Regions from separate parts of the Homo sapiens genome. Here regions 1 and 3 are each linked to region 2. Evidence: promoter capture Hi-C in 16 types of primary human blood cells and fetal thymus (Javierre and others, 2016). All regions are on one chromosome and are shown on one strand. Each heading gives the region's core, a stretch centred on a gene start or on the middle of the fragment in contact. The rest is flanking DNA. Distances are from core to core; before and after follow the strand shown. Region 1 holds the start of UBQLNL (ubiquilin like). Region 2 holds the start of OR52N4 (olfactory receptor family 52 subfamily N member 4). Region 3 holds the start of OR52H1 (olfactory receptor family 52 subfamily H member 1).

What was found. The method cuts DNA at HindIII sites, captures the fragments that hold promoters and counts their contacts. A CHiCAGO score of 5 or more calls a contact.
Region 1: a contact is called between the fragment with the promoter of UBQLNL here and the fragment with the promoter of OR52N4 in region 2, in 4 of 17 cell types (M2 macrophages, activated CD4 T cells, total CD8 T cells and 1 more). The highest score is 7.1, in M2 macrophages.
Region 3: a contact is called between the fragment with the promoter of OR52H1 here and the fragment with the promoter of OR52N4 in region 2, in 11 of 17 cell types (activated CD4 T cells, M2 macrophages, total CD8 T cells and 8 more). The highest score is 8.2, in activated CD4 T cells.

What each region holds. Positions count from the first base shown.
Region 1 is chr11:5,514,217-5,518,071 of GRCh38, forward strand. It overlaps UBQLNL (ubiquilin like), which reads right to left and starts at 2,483. Exons shown (of 1, transcript NM_145053.5): 1 at 177-2,483. The coding sequence starts at 2,225. The coding sequence ends at 798. The HindIII fragment of the contact is 7,757 bases long and covers 1-3,855 here.
Region 2 is chr11:5,751,793-5,755,588 of GRCh38, forward strand. It overlaps OR52N4 (olfactory receptor family 52 subfamily N member 4), which reads left to right and starts at 2,451. Exons shown (of 2, transcript NM_001005175.5): 1 at 2,451-2,513; 2 at 2,901-3,796. The coding sequence starts at 2,949. The HindIII fragment of the contact is 4,248 bases long and covers 2,378-3,796 here.
Region 3 is chr11:5,546,356-5,550,310 of GRCh38, forward strand. It overlaps OR52H1 (olfactory receptor family 52 subfamily H member 1), which reads right to left and starts at 2,185. Exons shown (of 2, transcript NM_001005289.5): 1 at 2,097-2,185. The HindIII fragment of the contact is 4,857 bases long and covers 1-3,544 here.

The DNA.
Region 1 (3,855 bases), core at 1,233-3,732, 240 kb before region 2:
TTCATATACCATGCTCAAAATGCTCATGTTTTAGAGATAAAAACATTATTTTTATCTCTATATTAATATATGCATGTGGTTTGTGTGTTAATGTACATATAGTAGGTGAGACAAAAATCTCACACAGCTAGTTTTTTCTTTTTTTTTTTGCAAAAGAAGTAAAGCCAAACCTCAGATCGCAGCAAGTGAGTGTAGCCATTTTATTGACAGATGTTTCAGCCACGACCAATGATCTATTATTCAGTACAAGACACATTGGTTGATAACTCTTATTCCAGGACTTCTCCTGGCTGGAAGCATCAGGAAAGGTGCAAAAGGCAAATGAGATGGTCAGGTGGGTCAGCAGGCAGGTAGCAAGCAAACAAGTAGGCATGGTGGTTAGAATCTCTGGGATCTCTTGAGCTTGCGGATAGCAGCATTGGTGTCCCCTTCAGTAGCAATGAGTGCCTGTAGATTGGCATGGTGGTTCCCAAATCCCATGGCCTGGAGAGAATCCATCTGTTTGCTAAAACAAATCTCAGGAGCTTGCAGAGGGTGGGAAGGGTCCCCATCCGGGGATTGTAGCCTCTGCAGGACTGTTCCAGGCTTGTGGCAGCACTCAGGTCCCTTGGGCTCAGCTGTATCTGAAACATTCCAGGAACAGGGCACTGTGTCAGGATAGCTGCAGCTGGGGGCAGGAAGCCAACCCAGGCCCCATAGGTAGGGTGCAACCCAAGGCAGAAGAACAGGAGCCTCTGTGGCCAGCAGCTGGAGGGCCTGCTCAATCTGCAATATTGCTTGGAATGCTTTAGGGTTGCCTAAGCACTAAGCAGATCAGAAATCTGTGTCTGCTGCAGGAATGTGGGCAGCTGCTGCCTCCACTGTTCACTCAGCTGGGGCATACTTGTGAACAACATAATCTGAGCTGCCAGGTAGGGGTTGTTCATAAGCAACTGCATCATGCCTCCTGTGATCTGGGAGCTGCTCTGCTCATCTGACAGCTGGAGATCACCCTTTAATGTCTGTCTGGAGCTACTTAGAGAAACAGTGGCATCCTTGTATTCTTCTTGAAGCTGCTGGGTAAGCTCTATGCTAGGTAAGGCTGGTATCCAAGCTGGCTGCCGAGTGGCACAGATATGGCTCTGGCCCTTGGTGGAAATCATAGCAGTGTTGGCTTTGGAAGTGTGGTTGACCTTGTTAAGGGTGTCATTGGCTGAGGTGTTTGAAGAGAAACCACCAGAGCTATTATAGATGACTCGGGTTGCAGGATGCTGTGTGAGCTGGTCTTGTTGTTCCTGTGATGGTGGTGGAGGTGGGGGTGAAGACTGGACTTGTTCTAGCACTTGTCCTGCCAGGAGAGCTGTGAAAGGGTTTCCTCCAAAAGGATCTTGCATGCTGTTCAGCATTTGATCATTGATATCAGCATAGTTCTGACCCAGGGCATTATTCCCACCTGGCATTGTCTCTAAGCCCAGATATGGCTGTGGGTTCAGTGGATACTCAAGGTTTTGTGAAGGTTGTTGGATCTGCATTATCTCTTGGATCATAGCAAGGTTCCTGGCCAGCTCCAGAGTCTGCAATAGGATCTCAGAATTATCAAGAAGAAGGCGGGAAACTTCTGGGTTCTGCTGCATCAATTGTTGCGTGTCTAGATGTTCTGAAATGAACTGCCACATGAACTCCATGTTGGACAGAAGCCGCTGGATGCTAGGATTCTCCAGCATCTGTGCTTTGCACTCTGGGTGGCTCACTTCCAAGTTTTGGGTATGCACTTTGGGTGCATCAGACCCCACAAAGTGGGCCAGTTCCACTGGAGCTTGATTCATACCAGTTGGTTGGTGCACTCTGCTGCTGTTTCCTTTGGTGTTTCTGTCCCGGTGGCAGGGATCATTCGTTGGCAGGTCCCGGAAGGAATGGGCTAGAGATCTGGAGCCCTGCTTGGACTTGATGACCAAGTAGATGGTGTGGCCATCCATGATGCCCCTCTGGCTCAGTGTGTCATGGTCTTTGAGAAGGCAACCCATGAAGACCAGCACTAGTTGGTCCATCTGGCATTGGAAGTGAGCCAATAGCATCTCCTTGAACTGCCTTACCGAGATGTCATCAGCTACCATAAAGTCTTTCTGGTTGCCTGCAGTCTTCACTATCACTCGAGTGGCACTTGAAGAGATATTTTTGTCTGCCAGCAGACCTGATGGACATCCACTCTGGGACATCCTGGATGTTCGAGAGATGGCATGCCACATGGGCTTTAGTGGGTGGGCAGATGGGGAGCAGGTGGAAGCTGGGGCAGAAAGGGTGAGGGCAGACAAATGTTTCTGCTGGCCTTTGTCTCAGGTATTGTGCTCTCAGGCCACAGGATAGTTTCCTTGTTGCCCTAAAAGGGATGAGTGACCAGACTGGGGCCAGATATTTTGTGATGTTGTGCCCTCACCCCAGTTCTCCAGATGTGGCCCAGCTGAGGCCTGGCATAGCTACTGATTCATAATTCACCCATGGTGGACAAAGTGGTGATGACTTCTCCTAGGGCTACCCCTCCTCCTACCCCACCCACCAGGGGCATGAATCCTCAGAAAAGGGATATTGTGATGTCAACTCTATCCTCGCAGTCACCCTGGGCCAGCTGGGGAAGGAGGACATATTTAGGGGTCCAGGGCTCTACAATAAAATAAAATAATTTTCCAGAAAACAGGGACAAAGTTCTCTGGATGGAACTAGTAAGAAAACAAAAAAGTAAATAAAAACCATATTTTTAAATGTGGGATGTGTGTTTCCGTGTGATACTGTGTGTATGTTCCTTATAGGGATGTTAGACTTGTATGAAAAGTTGGGTCTACTGAAGCCATAGATAAAGCCACATTCCTATAAGAATGCAGTCTCTCCCATAGGAAGGAGCGCATTAATTTTTTTAATGATCTGGAAATTTGGGTCTTATATAGAGTCTAGATTTTGGGATTCTATATTTAATTGTGCTCCCATGTGGTGGGGAAAATTTTCCTCTGTCCTAGGAAGCAGGAGTAGGGCTAACCAGGAAGGCTCTTCATAGGCACATGCCAAACTAAATGTGAATTAGCTCTTTTTTATAATATGCCTTTTATTCACATATCACTTGGTCTCTTCTACATGTCAATATAACAGAAGTTTTAGAATGATTTGTTTCAATGTCCTAACCCACTCTTGTGTGCCCACCTTTATGTCAAAGCATTAAGGGGGAATGTCGTCTGTAAATCAAGAGGTGGGAGAGGAGGTGGTTAGTAGTAAAATTCTTAAGGGGACAAATACAGGCAACTAAAAAGCTGGATTCTTGGTCCCATGTAAATTTGGAGAATTGTGTTTGGTTTTTATTTAGATGCAGATGGAAATAATTATTTATATGAGTGAGAGTGTACATGTCTTATCGAATGTATATATGAAATTGTATGCATATTCTGTGTTACTAGGAAGCCTTCAGGGTCTGGATTTTATATATTCCATCCACCTGCCTGGAGAGGGAGGAGCACCACACAGATAGCTAAGGAACAAGCAAAAAGCTCGAGCCCATATGTTCCCAGTGTGTTGAAGACAAGCAAAGGGATGATAGGCCGTTGGCCAGGAGACCTTCTGCTATCAAACCAATGATTCTTTATTGAGAATATCTAGACCCCCAGCACCATCCATGTCAGATCCTCATCATGCTATAAGGCCAGTTGCTAACTTACTACAGCAAGACTCAGGCCTATTCTCTTGCAATTGCACTCAAAAGTGAGATCGATCCAGGACAATGAAAAATTGATTACCAGACCAAGATCTTGCCCCTTTTCTCCCCAGGGACCTCACAGGAAGGTGGAGATAAGAAAGGGAACTTTCATATCCTACTCTAATGACCAGCTGCCCTGC
Region 2 (3,796 bases), core at 1,201-3,700:
GATTTTCATAATATCATGAGGGAAATATTATTAAAGAGAATAATTGTTTGAACAAATCAATTTCTTACCCCTAGTCAAGGCTATTGGTAGCTACATTATCTTAAAATAATTTAAAGGATGGGTCGCTATCATGTCCAAAGGACATTTGAGACCTCCTGATGATGGTTCTGCTTGAAGAATGTATAGGGATTAGCTACATTTGAGGGGAGTGGGCAAAGGGAGCACCAAGGAGATAGAGGTTTGCCTATCACAAAGCTGAGAATGTCAGTGCGATATGAGTAGGAAACAGCAAACAGCAACAGAAGAAAATGCTGTTCCTACCACTTTGACCTGTCAGAATTCTAATCATGCTCCAGGTCTGGAAGCATCTGTCCTCTTCTCTAGGAGCATCTCCTGAGGCTAGGTTAGACACACAGGTGCTCCTATGACACCCAGTATAACTCTGACATTTTGTAATGACTTGAGTACATATCTTTGAGGAGCATGCCTATTAACAAGTTTAACCTGTGTTTTTCTACTATTTTCAAAACAAGTTGCCTTTTGATAAATCTGATCTGTCCTCTTCATCTTACCCAATAAGGCAGAACATGTGACTGTACTTCCTATCAGATGCTAATCTTAAAACAGTGTATTTTATTAATGGAGGTTAGGATGAATACCTCCTCTGATGGGGCACAAAAGAGAGTTCATTTGGTGGCACTCATGATTCCTATGGTGTTAATTTTTGTAAGCATTGCCAAAATGGCTGCCAGCCTGAGTAGAAAATACAAATATGGGTATTGAGCACTTAAAATGTGGTAGCATGTTTTAACATATTACGTCCTTTAATCCTCTTGGCAATTTAATTTTTGTTATTATAAATTCTAACATACATATGCAATTTTACAATTAATCCAATTACATGTTGATTGATTTTTACAACCTGAATCTTGTATATCTCACAACCAAATCAAGTAAGGGAATATGACCAGCAACTAACAGGACCCTTCTACCACATACTGCCTTTCAGTTATCACTCTCTCTCACTTTTTAAAAAGATTTTTCTATTTCTAATAGCACAGAATAATTTGATCCGTTTTTGTATTTCATTTAAAGATCACAAGATGTTACATCTATTTTAAGTCTTTCTAAAAAAAATTAACACATATTGTGAGATTCGTCTATATTATGCATATAGTCATAGATTGTTTATTCTTATTGTTACGTGGTATTTCATTGTGGGAATGTACCAAAATTTATTTACCCATTTGATGTTGATGAACATTTAGGTTTTTTCCAGTTTTAGGCTATACTACAAATCATGTTTCAATAAGCATTCTAATTGATGTATTCTAGTAAATATATATACATAGTTTTGTTGGAAATGGCAATGGTGGTCATGTGTATGTTTATCATTATGAGATATCTAATAAAGAGTTGTTCTAATTTACATGTCTACCAGCAGTAAATGAGAGTTCCAGTTGTTCTACATCTTTGCCAATGCTTGGTATTTTTAGTTCTTTTCATTTTAGCTGTCCTGTTTGGTATGTCACTACATACCAAAAAAAGGTGCTTTGTCATGAGAGATACAATTTTTACTTATTTTTCTGATTAATATAAAAGTTTGTGCCTATTTACCTGTTCATTGGCAATTTTATTTCTCTTTTGAAGTGTATGTTTCTTCCTGCAACTTTTTCTTACTGATGTTGTTGAAGTACTTTATATATTTTCTGTATGTATGCATTTGGATATCTTCTAGTTTGCGTTGACTAGATACATAAAGAACAAGAAAGATATCTTGAAAAGTGAAAAAATTGAATCAAAACTTCATTGACTTTTTTAATTTTAAATTTTTGTGGGCACATAGTAGGTGTATATATTTATGGGTGTATGAGATATTTTGATAGAAGCATACAATGTGTAATAATCCCTTTTAAAGGGCCGGGCACAGTGGCTCATGCCTGTAATCCCAGCACTTTGGGAGCCTGATGTGGGTGGATTACCTGAGGTCAGGAGTTGGAGACCAACCTGACCAATATAGTGAAACCCCATCTCTGCTAAAAATACAAAAATTAGCTGGGCGTGGTGGCATGTGCCTGTAGTCGCAGCTACTCGGGAGGCTAAGACAGGAGAATTGCTTGAATCCGGGAGGTGGAGGTTGCAGCCAAGATTGCGCCACTGCACTCCAGCCTGGGCAACAAAGCAAGACTCTGCCTCAAAAAAAAAAAAAAAAAAAAAAAAAAATCCCAGTAAAGTAAATAGGGGTATCCATCATCTCAAACATTTATCCTTTGTGTTACAGACAACCCAATTATATTATTTTAGTTATTTTAAAATATACAATTAAATTATTATTGAGTATAGACACCCAATAAATTTACTAATTTTTGAGACCCCAAGCTTCATTGAGTAATAATTTAATTAAAATTTCAAAATTCTTTGAACAGTGCCTGAGTACCCAAGAATAAATATCAGTCAGTCATTAAGAATAAAAATTAAAAAGTCAACATCTCATCTCTCAGATCATCAGTGAGGTAATCAAATGACTCTTCTTTAAAATTATATCTATATTGAGATGAGTATAGTTATAGTTAAGTAAGATATTCTAATAAAAATACCATTTGAAAAGTCAGAATTATACTTGATTATAAATCTATGAGATTGGGAATATGTCTTTTTATAAAATAATTGATGTTTGATTGGCATCTGTGTTGAAAACTTAGACTGCTCAATAAGAATTTTTTACTGAATCAATTAATTAATCAATCAATAAAACTAAACAGACAAACAAAATTATTTCTTGGCACTCAGAAATTTGGTTGTTGGACCATTAAAATGCATTATGGAATTTTTAAAAGTTGGGGGAGAGGGAGACAGTAAAAATAACCTATATTTTCTCTTGTTTTTTTTTTTAACTCTAGGAAAGCCCAGACAAATTTTGAGCTATTTCATAACCTACCAGACTTATCATGCTAACACTGAATAAAACAGACCTAATACCAGCTTCATTTATTCTGAATGGAGTCCCAGGACTGGAAGACACACAACTCTGGATTTCCTTCCCATTCTGCTCTATGTATGTTGTGGCTATGGTAGGGAATTGTGGACTCCTCTACCTCATTCACTATGAGGATGCCCTGCACAAACCCATGTACTACTTCTTGGCCATGCTTTCCTTTACTGACCTTGTTATGTGCTCTAGTACAATCCCTAAAGCCCTCTGCATCTTCTGGTTTCATCTCAAGGACATTGGATTTGATGAATGCCTTGTCCAGATGTTCTTCACCCACACCTTCACAGGGATGGAGTCTGGGGTGCTTATGCTTATGGCCCTGGATCGCTATGTGGCCATCTGCTACCCCTTACGCTATTCAACTATCCTCACCAATCCTGTAATTGCAAAGGTTGGGACTGCCACCTTCCTGAGAGGGGTATTACTCATTATTCCCTTTACTTTCCTCACCAAGCTCCTGCCCTACTGCAGAGGCAATATACTTCCCCATACCTACTGTGACCACATGTCTGTAGCCAAATTGTCCTGTGGTAATGTCAAGGTCAATGCCATCTATGGTCTGATGGTTGCCCTCCTGATTTGGGGCTTTGACATACTGTGTATCACCAACTCCTATACCATGATTCTCCGGGCAGTGGTCAGCCTCTCCTCAGCAGATGCTCGGCAGAAGGCCTTTAATACCTGCACTGCCCACATTTGTGCCATTGTTTTCTCCTATACTCCAGCTTTCTTCTCCTTCTTTTCCCACCGCTTTGGGGAACACATAATCCCCCCTTCTTGCCACATCATTGTAGCCAATATTTA
Region 3 (3,955 bases), core at 935-3,434, 210 kb before region 2:
CTCTCAAACACAGACCCTTAATACTTACATTCTCAGGCATATCCAGACCTACACTTACATTCTGTCATATATTTTGCCACCATATATTTACCCATACATAATCTTACACAATTACAAGCCCCCTGTCCTCCCATCTTCCCCCGACACATGTGCTGACAATATAAACAAAATGTTTCACAATTAGATTTTGTCACTGTCACAGGCTTTGTAAATTCCTAAAACCTCTCCACTGGTCCTATACCTTCTTCCCCAGTAATGCCTCTATAACAACTCACAGCACTCCCAACTTGTCTGAGGTCATCCTTTATTCATACATATGTGAGGAAAGGTTTTCTCAAGTTTTTGTATTTCCATGAACTCAAATACAACAGATGTTCATGAAGTCATCCAAAAGCATTCACAAACACACACGGGTGCACAGACGGTTAACTCTCTCATTTAACAATCAGACAAATCCACAATGTGGAAAAATCTACAACAATCTGTTTTCTTTTTTCAAGTCAATGCCATTAAAGGGGGAAGGGGAATATTAGATAAGGAAAATCCATTTCCAGATTAAAGTACATTTAAGAGAAAAACAAATAAATGCAGTGTGGTTATTTATTTATTTATTTTATTGAGACAGAGTCTCACTCTGTCACCCAGGCTGGAGTGCTGTGGCACGATCTCGGCTCACTGCAACCTCCGCCTCCCCGGTTCAAGCGATTCTCCTGCCTCAGCTTCCCGAGTTGCTGGGATTACAGGCGCCCGCCACCACCCCCAGCTAATTTTTGTATTTTCAGTAGAGACGGGCTTTCACCATGTTGGCCAGGCTGGTCTCGAACTCCTGACCTTAGGTGATCCACCCACCTCAGCCTCCCAAAGTGCTGGGATTACAGGCGTGAGCCACCACGCTCGGCCTGCAGTGTAGTTCTTGATTGAATTCTGTTTAAACAAACCAGGTATTGAATTCAATTAATGAATAGTTAGGGAAACTTAAATATGGACTAGGTATTGAGTGATATAAAGGAACTAGTGTTAATTTTATCAGCAATAATTATGGTATTATGGTAGATACACATACATACTCTCAGGCATCCACAGTATGTTAGCAAAATATTGGCACAGAGCATGTACTCTGGAGCCTCAGAAAGCTAGGTTTCACAATTTAATCCTGGTTCCACAATTTACTAGCTATGTGAATCTGGGCAAGCTATTTAAACTACATGATATTTGGGTTCCTATGTTTTTAAAAGAAATTAATATTTCTAATTTTTATAATTATTATTAGGACAAAATGATACACATTGAAAAAAGAATTTTTTTTTTGAGACAGAGTCTTGCACTGTTGCCCAGGATGGAGTGCAGTGGCACAATCTTGGCTCACTGCAACCTCCACCTCCATGGTTCAAGTGATTCTCCTGTCTCAGACTCCCGAGTAGCTGGGATTACAGGTGCCCGCCACTATGCCTGGCTAATTTCTTTGTATTTTTAGTAGAGACGGGTTTCACTATGTTGGCCAGGCTGGTCTTGAACTCCTGACCTTGTGATCCACCTGCCTCAGCCTCCCAAAGTGCTGGGATTATAGGCGTGAGCCACCACGCCCAGCCGAAAAATATTCTTTAATATAGTACCTGAAACATAGTAAGCATGTAACAAGTTTTACTTCTTTATATTAGGTTATATTTTATATCATTAGTATTATCATTAACAACCAGACCATGCAGTGGAAAAGAGAACAGAAATTGCAAGATGGATAAAAATTAACAGGAGCACCCCTGGGCATACACACATACCAGCACACTTAATTCTACATTTTAAGTTAGAGTTATGGACTCTTGTCACATGTCTGAAACAGAAATTTCCTAACACTGCTAACTGTGGTCATACTTAACGCAGCTGTGTAATTGTCCATCTGTTCTGATCTTTTGATGCTTAACTCAGTGGAGCATATACACAAGTACTGGAGATCAGGACCTCAGTTTATAAATGGGAGTTGCTCAGGAAAGAAAATTATAGTGCCCAGCCCATGGTCCCTAAGAAATAGAGCCCTGGCTTTTCACTCACTTTCTCTAAGTCTTGTCCCAATCAAACCCCTTCAAACAGCCAATACTCACCAAATCTTGGGGATCAGGCCAAAGGGAAAGAAGAAAGAGTGTGTTGACAAAATCTACAAGACAGCAGACACACCAACCAAAAAAAAACATGAGTGGAAGGAAAAGGAAGGACGTTAGAGAGGTTGATTCCCTGTCCATTTATTTTCTCTGATCACTCACTGCTCCTTGTGGGGAAAAGGTAGGTAGTTAGGGGATTAGAGACTCTGACATGCCCTCTTCTCACCCTCAAGGGAAGAAGATGAAAAAGATTCTATTAACCTTGTTCATGCCTTTGAGTTAACACTGCCTTAGAGTGCTTTATTTATTTATTTATTTGTAAGCTGATGTGTATGTGGGTGGAAAGCTGTGTGTATGTGCCTATCATATCACCCAGGTTTCAAGTTCATGCCCTCACTTACCAGATAAAGGACTTTGGATGAGTTACTTAATTTCCATTAAAAGGTGGTCATATTAGTACCTGTCTCTCAAGATTTTATAAGGATTGACAAATTAATAGGATACTGCTAGTGAAAATGCTTAACATATCGGCAAACTTATGGTGTAAAGGAATAACCTAGGGCACCTGTTAAGATGAAAATTATATGGCCCACATGAAATAATTCTAATATTATCTTTTAAAAATTCCAGTGGCTTTAGGGGTACAAGTGTTTTTTGATTACATGGGTGAATTGTATAAGGTTGAAGTCTGGGTTTCTAGCGTACCTGTCACCCATATTGCGTAGATTGTACTCAATAGGTGATGTTTCATCCCTCACCCCTCTCCTAGCTTCTCCTCTTCTGGGTCTCCAATGTCCATTATACTACTATGTGTGCCCTTGCATACCTATAGCTTATCTCCCACTTATAATTTTTAAAACATTAAACTTCATTAAACATTTTTATTGGTAAAAACAATATGAGCAAATAAAATATATTCTTATGGAGAAACTGTTAGGTCTACCAGCTGGTACTGTCAGGAATTTCTGCAAGTCCAGATATCAATTTTTACCTAAGAGGCTTTTACCCAACAATTCTGAAAGCCAAGTCAGTTTTTGTCAATGTTTGTCAAACGTTTGCTAAATATTGTTGAATGTGTTAATTAATAAAGATTGCCAGGAGTCCACTCAGTACTCTGAATGTTCTAGAATATCTGGAATAAACCAGAACTAATGAGATTAGTATTGTATTGGCTCCCAACAGAATTTTTACCTTTCGCTGAATAAAAATTGAGGTTGCTTCACCTCTCTATACTAGGATAAGGGACTGAAGAGTCACATGAACTTGTGTATTCTGTAAGAATGTGATTAATTGCATCACTTACTGCCTATTCTTTAAGAGCTTTCTAAAGATATTTCTCCATTCTTCATATAAGAAGTAGTTTTGCTTCTCTAACAATTAACTGTCTGTAACTTATAGCCATCATGAATTATGTAGCTAATCATGTTTAACTCTCACATAGACTGTTAGAAAGCTTACAGCTCAATTTCTGACCCACATATAATAAGAGAACAAAAATTCATAGCAGGTGGAAAGTGTATTTTCGGCCTATTTTTTGTCTTAATTTTTAAAAATCTTTCTACTTTTCTTTTTGCCTTTTCTATTTATACTTTGTAATATGCCACATAACAATGTTTCTGAACAATTGTCCCATAAGATTACAATACCATATTTTAGAGTACCTTGTCTATGTTTAGACATGTTTAGATGCACAAATACCATTATATTATACTTCCCTACAATATTCGGTATAGTAACATGATGTACAGTTTTGTAGCCTAGGAGCTATAGAATATAATAGAGAGCCAAGGCTGTATCACACAGGTTTGTGTAAGTACACTCTATGATATTTGCACAATAATAAAATCATCTAACAACACATT